4 separate regions of the Homo sapiens genome follow, and all the other regions are linked to region 1. The links are contacts of gene promoters, found by promoter capture Hi-C in blood cells and fetal thymus (Javierre and others, 2016). All regions are on one chromosome and are shown on one strand. Each heading gives the region's core, a stretch centred on a gene start or on the middle of the fragment in contact. The rest is flanking DNA. Distances are from core to core; before and after follow the strand shown. Region 1 holds the start of GAB2 (GRB2 associated binding protein 2). Region 2 overlaps NARS2 (asparaginyl-tRNA synthetase 2, mitochondrial). Region 3 overlaps GAB2 (GRB2 associated binding protein 2). Region 4 overlaps NARS2 (asparaginyl-tRNA synthetase 2, mitochondrial).

Region 1 (3,144 bases), core at 248-2,747:
GGATCCCTAAATTGTAAGGTTAAGGGAGCTGTGGTCCCAGCCTACCAGTTCTGGCTTTACTTCCCATCCAGCAGCACACTGGATATTGAAGAAAGTCAGTGAAATGTTAGATCCAGGGGACTGACCGCTAAAACTCCCAGGGTATCTAGAAGAGCTAAGTACGTGGTAGGGGATTCGCTTTTCCAAATTGAGGAGGGTGAACTTCCCCCAACCCAATCAAGATCTTTTGGACCAAATGATGTCCAACTGCTTGAAACAACTCAGCTGCACAGAGACAGAAATAAACAAAACAGCTTTAGTCTGAGGTTGTGTGGGGCACTGCAAGATGCTGCTTCTCCAATTCATCTGTCCACACAGCACGGTTCCCCATTGAATAAACAGGTTACTATCCACTTATCAGAGAAGTTAGGGAGGACCTGCCTTTTAATGCTGCTTAGAGAGACACTTTGTGATGAGAAAAGAGCTCGTACAAAAGATTTTTTTCTCCCCCCTCCCGCTGAAGTGCTGGGGTTGTGTGCTTCCACGTACATCTGGGATACCATTATATTTACAAACAGAGGTCTCATAGCCTGTGTCAATGAGCGGGAACGTTGGGGAATTTGGACCCCAATTTCTTGTTCTTCTGCACTTGACCTTGCCTTCCAATTCGTTATGAAATACATTGACTAGTTTTGCTTCTTCCATTCTACAAATCATGCGAATTTTCTATACTAAACTGTGTTTTCCCAGAGGCAGTGTAGGAGGGAGTCAGCTGGACTTGGTTTCCAGGCAATGAGAGGCTCCCAGGTCGATCCCATTAAGGCAATGCCCTCATTTTGAATAGCAGATGACCGGGACCCCTCCTCCCCCACACACCTGAATTGGAAAATTGGCTCGGCTTTGTACAAGCCCTTGCCCTTAGGCTGTCCATAAAATAGGAACAATACTGAAGACAATCCTGTAAGCTACAAAAGCAAAGGCTCCGGCGCGTAGTAGGTCCGTCTCCTCCTCCCGCCGAGGGACGCCAGAGTTAAGGAGCTTCTTGCTGGGAAGGGGTCCCTCCTTTCAGCCGGAACCTGACCCGCAGAATGTATCGGAAATGTGAGCAGCCCTAGTATCCCTTCCCCGTCGACGCTCGGTGAAAAATCGATCGACGACCGAGGGCGCGCAGTCCCTTCCCCTCACACCCGCCAGCGCCAGGGGCGCGGTCGCCTCCCTGGCCTCCGCGCCCGCGGCTTGGGGCCTCAGGAGAAAGCGAGACTCCGGGGCGCGCCGGCGGCGGTGGCTTTCTGTATCCTCGCGGGTCCCTAGCCCCGCGTCCGCGTGCGCGGCGGCCTCGGGGGCGCGGCGGGAGCGGGCGTGGCGAGCGAGCCGGCCTTCCTGCTGCAGCTGCTCCCCCGGCGGCCGGGCGGAGAGTGCGGATTGCGCGCGCTCGGGGCGGGGGAGCGGGCGCGCGCGAGGCTGCCGGGCTCGCGCCGCGCCGCGCCGCCTAGTCCCCGCCGGGCCGCCCGCCCCGCCCCTGGCCTCCCGCGAGCTGCGCACCGCCGGCCGCTGCCCCAGCTGCCCGAGCCCGCGCCCTCGTCCGCGCGACCCGGCGGGGGGCTCCAGGCCGGCAGCATGAGCGGCGGCGGCGACGTGGTGTGCACCGGCTGGCTGAGGAAATCGCCTCCCGAGAAGAAGTTGAGGCGCTATGTGAGTGCGGGCGCGGCCGCCCAGGGGCGGGCGGGGGGCGCTCCGGGGCCTGCGGAGGGGCGGGGGACTCCCGGAGGGGCGGCAGGCTGGGGAGCTCGGGCCCGGAGCCGCGGGGGGCCGGGGGCGAGGAGCGGCCGGGGGCGTGTGGGGCACCTGCACACCTGTCACAGGTGGGCCGCCGAGGGGCGGGGCGGGCGGCAGGTTGAGGCTGCGGCTCCTGCTCCGCCAGGCGGGTGCGGCTGCGGCGCCTCCCAAGCCGGTCTGCTCGTGAACTAAATACAGTGTCGAAGTTTTGTATTGATGGCTTCTGGAGACCGAGAGAGTTGACTCTCGGGGCTGGGGCTCCGCGGCAGCCCCGAGCAGCTTCAGCCCGCAGGGTCGGGGAGAGGGCGGGAAAGGGGGGCGTAGGCTGTGGGGCCGCGCGGACGGCCCCACAAAGGGCGAGCGCCTCACGCCCTCTCCTTCCCTTTCTCCGCCTGCCCCTCCCGGCCGCCGGCCTCCCTCCGTCCGCGGCTGCATCACCGGCAGCGTCAGCGGCATGTGCAGCCCTTGTATTAAGTGACTCATTTGTTTGTCCCCCTTCTTTCCCTTTATTCCGTTCGTCTCTCACAGGCGCCTCCCCCCGACCCCGGTGTGACACTGCAGTTTGGTCCCCGTGGCTGGCCCGGGTTTGGGACCGGGCAGCTCCCGGGTGTCTGGGGTCGGGAGAGATCGAGGCTCTCCGCGGCCAGGTGTTGCCAACCGACAGTGTTTACTGAGATCGCTGGAACAGCCTTTTCCCTCTAGGTGGGGAACTGGCAGCCTGGGGGAGGTGGAACAGCGTGGCGCTGAGCCGTGGAGTTCTGGCTTTTTTTTTTTTTTTTTTTAACCCCTCTCCCCAGAGGATGCCTTGCCTGGTGAGGTCAAAGTACAAGATGGTGCCAGTTACTGAGATTTGGCCGAAATGGTCTTGGGGTAGTCGCGGGAGTTTGGAAGTGGGGGTAAGGTTGCTGGAAGGTTTCAAGGTCTCTCATCTGCTCCCTCTCCGTTTCCCATGAAATGCCCTTGTTTAACGGGCTGTGGTGCCGAACTCCGGGATCACTCCCACAGCCTGGAAGGGAGCCGTTGCCTCCAGCTGCAGTGCATCAAGGGAGCTCGGAATAGACCCTGCCCTCTGTCAGCTGCACCAGTGGCTGTCCATGGGGGGAGAGGCAGAAGCCTACCAGAATTTCCTGTCTTGGCTCCCCAGATCAGAATCAAGGGACTTCTGGCCTCTGGACTGAGGAAGTGACATTCTGTTTTTCAAAGGAAGTGTTGTTGTTGCGGAGTACAAGTGTGTGTCAATGAAATCAGGCTCTTAGGTAGATGTTTGCTGGGGGAAAAAAATCTAAGGATTTAGCACATGAGTTTTGAAAGTGGACGTGGATTTATAGGAGGAATGAAGCAGTGAATTGTTCATCTCAGTTCGGAAGCTCATTTTTAGGAGTGTCTATG
Region 2 (3,144 bases), core at 427-2,926, 120 kb before region 1:
CTCTTGATTACCACAGCCAGAGGTAAAGGGCAACCAAGCCCTTCTGTTCCAGTTATCAATAACTTAACTTCCTCCTTGCAGCAACTGCAAGAAAGTATATTTTGTGGGGGGGTTTGTTTTGACCCAAGGTCTCGCTCTGTCGCCCTGTTGGGAGTGCAGTGATGAGCCAGCGATCATGGCTGTCTGCAGCCTTGACCTCCTGAGCTCAAGTGATCCACCCACTCCAGCCTCTAGAGTTACTAAAACTACAGGTGCGCACCACCACACCCAGCTAATTTTTAAAGTAGAGTCAGGGTCTCACTATGTTGCTCAGGCTGGTCTTGAACTCCTGGTCTCAAGCAATCCTCCTGCCTCCACCCCACCGAAGTGCTGGGATTTATAAGTATTTATTGAGTACCTGCTGTGTTTAGTGGTAGTCAAGTCCTTTGTGTGGATACGTGGTTTGGAGACTTAACTCTGGAGCATAGGTATCCCTTCTCACAGAAGTCCTAGTTAACGGACTAGGACCATATCTTATCATATTCATCCTTAAAGCCCCAATCTGACAATGAATAAGCCAAAATTAATATTTTTCAAGCAATAGTGAAAAAAAGTTTGGTTCATTTTTCACCGACCCCTTTACATTTAGGAATAAGTTTGCTGTTTTGCAATTTTACATTTGTGTTTATCTCCTGTAAAAGAAAAATAAGGCAGCATTGTATATTCACTTTCTGTTTTGCCTCAACCTTACCCTCTAATATTAGACTCCACGCGTCTTTTCTTGATTCATTCTTTCTCAGACTGCTCAGCAGGAAAACACTGTTTACAAACAGTCTGACTTAATAACTTCCTTTCCTGCTGATCAAATAGTTGTTTAAATGAAACCTTTCTCAGGGCTGAGTGGGTGTTCTAGTTAGTGGGTGTTCTGGAATGTAAATGAACCCTTATTTTAAGAAAGATTATTTTTATACTAGCAGTTCTGTGTACACCAAGATACACATTTGTAGCAAGTGGAAAGTATGGAAACATAAACTGGACTTATTGGAAATTTTTAGATTAGTGAAAGACCTACATATATGGCTTGTTAATAGGCAAATCCCAAAACTAACATAACCGGCAAAATAGAATGCAGTTTATTGAGCCTGTTTCCCTTGGCTTTGGTTTTTACGTATGAGATGCAGTCTAATGGCATGCAGAACAATTTCTGCAGCAATGATAGCAACTGCATTTGAGATACAGCTTGATAGGGATCATGAAACTACCAACCCACAAATCTTTGGAGACTGTATGACAGATTTAGTTCCTATGATTGATTGCTTGGTTGGTTGATTGATTTTAGAGGCAGAGTCTTACTCTCTCACCTAGGCTGGAGTGCAGTGGTATGATCATAACTCATTGACCTCAAACTCCTGGACTCAAGTGATCCTCCTGCCTCAGCCTCCCGAGTAGCTGGAATTACAGGCACCCTCCACTACACCTGGCTTGTTTTATGTTATATGATCAGCATTTCATACTTAGGAGAGACTAATATTAAAAGCATTTTAATCCAAAGCTTTATTTCAACACTACAGGATAAAAAATGCGAGAGCTGGGCACAGTGGTATATGCCTGTAGTCCCATCGGAAGGCAGAGGTGAGAGGATCACTTGAGCCCAGGAGTTCAAGACCAGCCTGGGCGACATAGCAAGACCTTATCTCAAAAAAAAAAAAAAAGTGACATGACTTATTGGAAAGGTGATTGTACTAGAAGCTGAGAAACCTGGATTCTACAACTGATCTTACCAAAAAGTAGTTGTATATAACATTTATTCTAACATTTGACATTTAACATTTTTAAGCTTTAGCATCTTTTACAAGAGGGAAGTTGAATTAAAATTTTTTTTTTTGAGATGGAGTTTCACTGTTGTCACTCAGGCTGGAGTACAATAGTACTAGTTTCAGCTCACAACAACCTCTGCCTCCCAGAGTCAAGCAATTCTCATGACTGAGCCTCCCAAGTAGCTGGGAATACAGGCGTGCGCCACCACGCCTGGCTAATTTTTGTATTTTTAGTAGAGATGGGGTTTCACCATGTTGACCAGGCTGGTCTCGAACTCCTGACCTCAGGTGATGCGCCTACCTTGGCCTCCCAAAGTGCTGGGATTACAGGCGTGAAAAAATTAAAGTTTTATCTAACTTAGATTTTTTTATTCTTTACTATCTGTATCGTGAAAGGCATAGCCTCCCTCTAATCTCTTAATTGGGATCAAGAAAGAAAATAGGATATTCAGTGGTTATATGGAGCTTACAGATGGTGAGTACTCTCCCTTTTCTTCATGATCTTCAAAGGAAATTGCAGATTGAGGTAAACAGGACAATAGCATGCCATTATGATTTTAAACCTTTTAAATTTCTGAACCATGCTTCATCTTTATGTATTCTCTTCCCAACTTTTTGTCTCTGGGATTATGAGTAAATAGAACTGGGTAAAAGGTGGGGGTAGGGTACAAAGTAGAAAATGGAAAAAGTAAAAGGAGATAAAAATAGATTGGGTGTTTCAGTGATTGTAGAGGTCAAATAAGTTTTCCATTGTTGATTATATTCCTTTCCACTGTTCAGCTTACTGCTATTTACTCTCGCTCCTTGCTATATATTTTACATGGAGACAGAGTCGGACTTGTGTGGGTTTTTCTATTTAATTCTCCTGAGATTGTGAAACTGCTCAGCTAAATTTGTTCTGCTGTGAGAACAAATAACTGGAGGGCAATTCAAAATACTTGTTTAATATTTTCTTGGAAATCCTCAAAGAAACAGGGAGGATTTTAGATCCGTGTGGTAAGAAATTCACTGGGATACACACATTAAAAAAATTTTTTTGGTAGCTCTTGGTTTCCCCTTTCTTGGCTGTGCTATTTACTGTCTTCCAGTGGCAGAATAACCTAGCAAAAATTTTTGTTTTGCATAATAGAGAAAGGCTAGGTTAAGTTTTATTGCACTAACGTAAGTTTTATATGATCAGGGAAAGGTTAGTCTATCATGGACTGTTTAGGATGGGAGGTAATCATCCTTTATATTGATTTTCAAACATTTTTGTTCAAAAGTGTTTTCCAAACAAAATCTTATACCAAGACCCTCTATAGAAGATAGATAAAAGGAATGACTTTGTTTATCAGATAGCTCAAATCCA
Region 3 (3,144 bases), core at 431-2,930, 81 kb after region 1:
CTAATTAAGGACAAACAAGGAAAAGGGATTATGAATAGGCATTATGTTATCCAGCCAACAGTGCAGTGTCTGGCATTGAATTGAACATTGAACATTCAATGCTCTTATGATGGTGATGGTAACAGATAATTCACTTCATCCTGCTCTCCTGAAGAGTCAGGTAACATACTTAACATTTTATACTTTATGGAGTACTTTTGTAAGACATTTGATGGTGTATTGTTTTTATATGTTTAGAAGTTCCTTGCTGACTGAGCCAAAGAAAGAAGATGAACTAGGAAGGATAATGTAGTCCAGGCCTTCATACTGACCTGGCCTGGCCTCGGGTCTTTTGCTTACAAAGCTTTCTCAAACCACTCTGAGCTACAGCAGTTGTTCATGCCTCTAAACTCCTAATATTACTTCTGACTTAATGCTGTATTTGTGCTGCTTTATATTTTAAAAATGTACATGGCTTCTTAGCTAAGTTTGGAACTCCTTAATTACAGGATCTACACAGAATGTGTCTTACGGAATATAGAGAGGAACTCATTTGTGATTCATTTATTGACAAAACATTTTCTACTTCTCACCATTAGCTGCACTTGAGATAGGGTAGGGATGGGGAGTTACTAGAATGATGCTTTCTTCTTCTATGAGGGAAGACTTTTATTTTCTTTGCCTAATACTCTACCATTCTTTCTCCAACTTCCACCTTCTTTCTCTTTTCCCTGCCTCTAAGAGAACGGTGTGGGTTGTCAGGGGAGAAAACATATCATTCCATTCTTTTATTACTTTCTAGCCCCTCCTTAACTAAGTCTTGTCTGTGACATCACTGTGGGGAATTCTGCCTTACTTCCTAATAGGGCAAAAACTTCTGACCCCTCCCTGCCATTTCTGAGACTACAGCAAAAAGGAAACCCCCGCATAGTAGCTTCTGGTGCCTTTTGCATATTGCCTTTTGCCCTGTCCTTATTTCTTTTTGGACATTTGATTTAAGAGGCAAATAGTACTAGATGAGGAAATCAAACCCACTAACTGAAATCTACGCTGAGAAGCAAATGATTATCTGATCTTTTGCTGAGACCAAATGCTAAGAATGTGTTGAGATCTTGGAACCCAAAGGTATTAGATGAACATTGAGCAAGAAGCATTTAATCGCAAGGCTGGTTGCCCAGTCCAAGGTTCTTTGAATGTTGTTCCCTGCTAGTGCTAGTACTATAGTCTTCAGAAGTCCATAGTCAAAGGTAGGTAGATGCTGGAGTACTCACAGTCAGATTTCTGAGCAGTTGAATACAATGGCTTTTCTTCCCTTTACTATGATATTTTAGAAATAGAAATGACTAGATGCTAACATATTTTAGTTCAATATATATCACTTCTTGTCATTAATTCAATTCTTTGGTTTATTTTGTTTCTAATTGCACAGATAACAAGAATTTCCTAACATTTTTCTCATACCCTTTGGCCACTTAATGTTCCCATGCTATTTATTCCTGTTCATTTTTCACTGTTTGATGATGGTTATTGTTGAAATTTAGCAAATAAAATGTCAGCTGTGGCACCTGTATTTCCAGGGTCTAAAATAATGTGTAGACATCCATAGACAAAACACAAAATTCTAACTATTATCTATTTTATAAAACAAAGCACTTTACCAAGGTTTTAGAGATTTAAGGTGCCCGTTAATTATCCCTCCTCCCAGGAAGTCAAATTATCCTTGTTTGCTCATGATATGATCTCATATTTGGAAAAACCTAAAGACTTCACCAAAAAAAAAAAAAAACAACAACTATTACAACTGATAAATTCAGTAAAGTTGCAGGATACAAAATCAGCATACAAAAATCAGTAGCATTTCTATATGTCAACAGTGAACAATCTGGGAAATAATTCTTGTTGTGTTTTTTTTTTTTTTTTTTTTTTTTTTTTTTTTTTTTGAGAGACAGTCTCGCTCTGTCGCCCGGGCTGGAGTGAGTGCAGTGAGTGCAGTGGTGCGATCTTGGCTCACTGCAACCTCCACCTCCCAGGTTCAAACAATTCTCCTGCCTCAGCCTCCTCAGTAGCTGGGACTACAGGCGTGCACCACTATGCCCAGCTAATTTTTGTATTTTTAGTAGAGATAGGATTTCACCATGTCAGCCAGGCTGGTATTGAATTCCTGGCTTCCAGTGATCCGCCTCCCTCCGCCTCCCAAAGTACTGGGATTGCAGGTGTGAGCCACCATGCCCGACCTGGAAAATAATTTTTTAAAAAGTAATCCCATTTATAGTAGCCACAAATAAAATTAAATGCCTAGGAATTAATTTAACTAAAAAAGTGAAAGATCTCTGTAATGAAAACTATAAGACACTGATGAAAAAAACTAAAGAAGGCACCAGAAAATGGAAAGATATTCCATGCTCATGGATTGGAAGAATTAATATTGTTAAAATGTCCATACTACCCAAATCTATAGATTCAATGCATTCCCTGTCAAAATACCAATGACATTCTTCACAGAAATAGAACAATTCTAAAATTTATATGGAATCACAAAAGACCCAGAATAACCAAAGCTATCCCAAGCAAAAAGAACAAAACTTGAGGAATCACATTACCCACTTCAAATTATACTACAGAGCTATACTAACCAAAACAGCATGGTACTGGCAAAAAAACAGACACATAGACCAATGGAATAGAATAGAGAACCCAGAAACAAATTCACATACCTACAGTGAACTCATTTTCAACAAAGCTGCCAAGAACACACACTGGAGGAAAGACAGTTTCTTCAGTAAGTGTTGCTGGGAAAACTGGATATCCGTATGCAGAAGAATGAAACTAGATCCCTATCTTTCACCATATACAAAAATCAAATCAAAATGAATTAAAGACTTAAATCTAAAACCTCTAACTATGAAGCTCCTACAAGAACTGATTGGGGAAAATCTCCAGGACATTGGTCTAGAAAAAAATGGCAAGTGGTAACTCCACAAGCACAGACAACCAAAGCGAAAATGGACAAATGGGATCACATCAAGTTAACAAGCTTCTGAACAGCAAAGGAGACAATCCCTAAAATGAAGAGACAACCCACAAAATGGGAGAAAACATTTGCAGACTGCCCATCTGACAAGGGATTAATAACCAGAAAATATAAGGAGTTCAAACAACTCTATA
Region 4 (3,144 bases), core at 458-2,957, 75 kb before region 1:
GGGAAACAATAAGTATTAAAGAATGACGGATGTAGTGTCCACTTCACTATAGGAGTTTAAGAATAAGGGATTTTTCTCCCCATTTGGATGGTTGAGCTATAGTCCTCTGGAATCAAGGGAATAAAGTAGTTCCTCAAAATCTCTCACCTCCACATTTCAGGGGTCATTCACCATTGATTGAAAGACAGGTGGTCGTCAAGGACTTGAGTGGGCTTTGAACAAGGTGAACTGCAATATGTATCTGACGTTCTTTTTTCTTGTGTTTAAAAAATAAATGAACACACCTTATCTACATGAAATTCTAGTTTTCACTGTTATTATCTAGATTTTCTGTGGGGTTTCTTGGGCTGCGGTGTTTTTTTCTTTACTTTGTTCTTGATTGCTGTGAAATGTAGTTGCCTGCTGTTTTAAGGCAGCTGCAGTAGAGTGCACCCAGAAGTGGTTATGTTTCTATATTTAGTAAAACCATAGGATTTGTGAAGCAGTTGCAGATTCCTTCAGGATAAAATGGTTTCTATAAATGTAACTTTTTTTTTTCTTTTTTTTTTTTGTTTGTTTGTTCATTTATTGAGACAGGATCTCACTCTCGCCCAGGCCAGAATGCAGTGGCATGAACATGGCTCACTGTGGCCTCCACCTCCTGGACTCAAACGATCCTCCTGCCTCAGCCTCCCAAGTAGCTGGACCTATAGGCACAGGCCATCACACCTAGCTATTTTAAAGGATTTTTTGTAGAGATAAATTTTCACCATGTTTCCCAGGCTGGTCTTGAACTCCTAAGTTTAAGCAGTCCTCCCAGGAAGTGCTAGGATTACAGACCTGAGCCACTGTGCCCAGCCTCAATGTAACATTTTTAATGAAACTGTTATTATCACCTATTAGAGAAATATGTAGCAGCAAATATGTGTCAGTCTGTGGACAAGACAGAGGCACACAAAACTTTATTTTCCGTAAGAGCTCACTGAATATTTAAATACTTAAAATTAATCATGTGAATTCTATTTGCATTCTCTTAATCTTGAATTGCAGAGCTTTTACTCAAGTGTTTACCTTTGGTCCGACCTTCCGAGCTGAAAATTCTCAGAGCCGGAGGCACCTGGCAGAGTTTTATATGATAGAAGCAGAGATTTCTTTTGTTGACAGCCTTCAAGATCTTATGCAGGTAGGTACACAAGTTTTAAAATACCAGGTATCTGTGACATTAAAATGTTTCTGTATATATTTTTACCTCGGACGTTTATGTGTTACAGGTATTCATAAAGTGAAAAGAAGGGGTAACTACTTAATAAACACTTATTGAATGCCTTTACTGTAATAGTTTAAAATACAAGAGTCAGACAGATTTAAGTTTATATCCCAGCTCTGCCATTAGCTTTGCTATGAAGTTCCCTGACTTTCATGATCTTTAGGTTCCTCAACTCTAAAATGAGAATAATTGTGCTTACTCCTAAGGTTATGTGAGGGGTAAATGAAATTGTATATATAATATAATGCATATAGCATGGGGTCTGGAACACAAGCAGGTTCACTAAATAGTAGCTCTGATTTGCTAGGAAAATATACCAAACATCTTTATAATTATATAAATGTCTGTAATACTTACATAAACCCCTATGTAGCTATATTAGAAAGCATCCACAGGAGCTATCAGCTCAGTTGAGCAGGGGACAAGGCTGGAGAGATGGTCATGGTCAGGCAACAGATCATGAAAGACCTTGTATTTCAGTGCCATAGTAAGGAGTTTGAACTTTACCCAAAATTTAAGGAGCAAGAGTTCTAAATTGGAAAATGAAGGTCAGAGCTATATTTTAGGCACATCTTTTTAGCAGCAATATGAACAATGATTTAGAGGTAGATAAAAGTAGAGAGGCCTTGTTAGGAGGCTGTAGACATAATCCAGACAGTGCACACAAGTGGAATTGAATGGACCAAGATTTGATGCTTAACCACTCACATGCTATGTGACCAACTTAGACAAGGGACTTAATGTCTCTAGGCCTCAGTGTCTTCATCAAAATTCCAATACATAGGAATAAAAATTCCTACTTTATAGGCTACTTGAGAAGATCAGGTAGATAAAATCTATATATGTGTGTGTGTGTGTGTGTGTGTCTGTATATATATATATATATATATGAAGTACTTAGCATAATTTATGGCACTTAGTAAATACCCAGGAATTGTTAACTGTTAAATTATGAATTGTCTATTCAGAAGCATTGTGGTTACTATCTTAGTTTGGATTTGTAATTATGGGATGTTTATTTTAGTGATTTTCATCAACTCTCCTTTCTGTTCATTTCTATGTCTTTCTACTCTTACCCAGTAAATGACCTATTTCCACTTAAAACATAAATACCATATATATCACAAATAGAACAGACTAATTATTTTATTACCCTGTCTTGAGTTGGATTTCCTAGTAAACAAAACTCTCTAAGGCAGAGATGTGTGGGCAGGGGCGTTATTAGGGAGTGCTCTTGAGAACAGTATTCATAAGGAAAGGAAGAAAGTCACATTGAACAGTGGGAAGTGTGAACTGTGATCCATTTACAAACAGAGGCCTTAGCTTCTTCTGTGAAGAACTTTGGAACTGGAATGGTCCTAAACCAGATGGGAACAGTTGTCCCATCTAAAAGCAAGGCGTTAGCACTTTGTGCCTTCCCATATCAACCAATCATTGGATGTGATTAGCCACTGGAAGGGGCATAACCTTGAGTAAGGCAGTACCTTTGGGTCTCGACAGTTCCTGATGAAGCACTCAACTATAAACCATCAGCAGTTAGTAATATTCCTGGATTCCCATATAGGGCACTTGGCCCTGAAGGGGCATTCGGCCACACAATATAGCATTTCACTTCCATGCTCCCTTTACACTTCCCGCTGAGCATTTTGGATCAGTCCCCATGGGACATTTTTGGTTATCCCTATTAGGGAATGGGCAGGGAAGGGGGAGAGTGGTCACTACTAGCATGTAGTTGGTAAAGGCAGAAGTGCTGTTCAACAACCTAAAGTGCACAGCCACCTTCTCCCCGGTAATTAGCTGGCCCAAAGTATCAGTAGTGCTGCTGTTGAACAACCATATTCTGGACTGTAGGGATTCAGGATCTGAGCTTCAGAAGGAGTCAGTGGCATTCCTTAAGT

The links. Contacts are between HindIII fragments. The CHiCAGO score rates a contact against its expected background, and 5 or more counts as called.
Region 2: a fragment that was not itself captured here is called in contact with the fragment with the promoter of GAB2 in region 1 in 6 of 17 cell types (total B cells, naive B cells, M2 macrophages and 3 more); the score reaches 22.0 in total B cells.
Region 3: a contact is called between a fragment that was not itself captured here and the fragment with the promoter of GAB2 in region 1, in 5 of 17 cell types (neutrophils, monocytes, M2 macrophages and 2 more). The highest score is 11.2, in neutrophils.
Region 4: a fragment that was not itself captured here is called in contact with the fragment with the promoter of GAB2 in region 1 in 1 of 17 cell types (total B cells); the score reaches 5.4 in total B cells.

Annotation. Positions count from the first base shown.
Region 1 is chr11:78,416,173-78,419,316 of GRCh38, reverse strand. It overlaps GAB2 (GRB2 associated binding protein 2), which reads left to right and starts at 1,497. Exons shown (of 10, transcript NM_080491.3): 1 at 1,497-1,671. The coding sequence starts at 1,597. RefSeq lists silencers at 1,108-1,727, 1,838-1,937, 2,008-2,137, 2,600-2,894 and an enhancer at 1,757-2,511. The HindIII fragment of the contact is 5,597 bases long and covers 1-3,144 here.
Region 2 is chr11:78,539,881-78,543,024 of GRCh38, reverse strand. All of the region lies in intron 5 of NARS2 (asparaginyl-tRNA synthetase 2, mitochondrial), which reads left to right. All of the region lies in intron 1 of NARS2-AS1 (NARS2 antisense RNA 1), which reads right to left. Among named protein-coding and RNA genes, the nearest start is that of NARS2-AS1, 8.3 kb to the right of the region's middle. The HindIII fragment of the contact is 285 bases long and covers 1,534-1,818 here.
Region 3 is chr11:78,335,102-78,338,245 of GRCh38, reverse strand. The region is part of intron 1 of GAB2 (GRB2 associated binding protein 2); the gene reads left to right. Among named protein-coding and RNA genes, the nearest start is that of GAB2, 81 kb to the left of the region's middle. The HindIII fragment of the contact is 2,670 bases long and covers 346-3,015 here.
Region 4 is chr11:78,491,081-78,494,224 of GRCh38, reverse strand. NARS2 (asparaginyl-tRNA synthetase 2, mitochondrial) reads left to right here. Exons shown (of 14, transcript NM_024678.6): 7 at 1,030-1,162. The region is part of intron 1 of LOC105369403 (a long non-coding RNA gene); the gene reads right to left. Among named protein-coding and RNA genes, the nearest start is that of NARS2-AS1, 41 kb to the left of the region's middle. The HindIII fragment of the contact is 4,140 bases long and covers 1-3,144 here.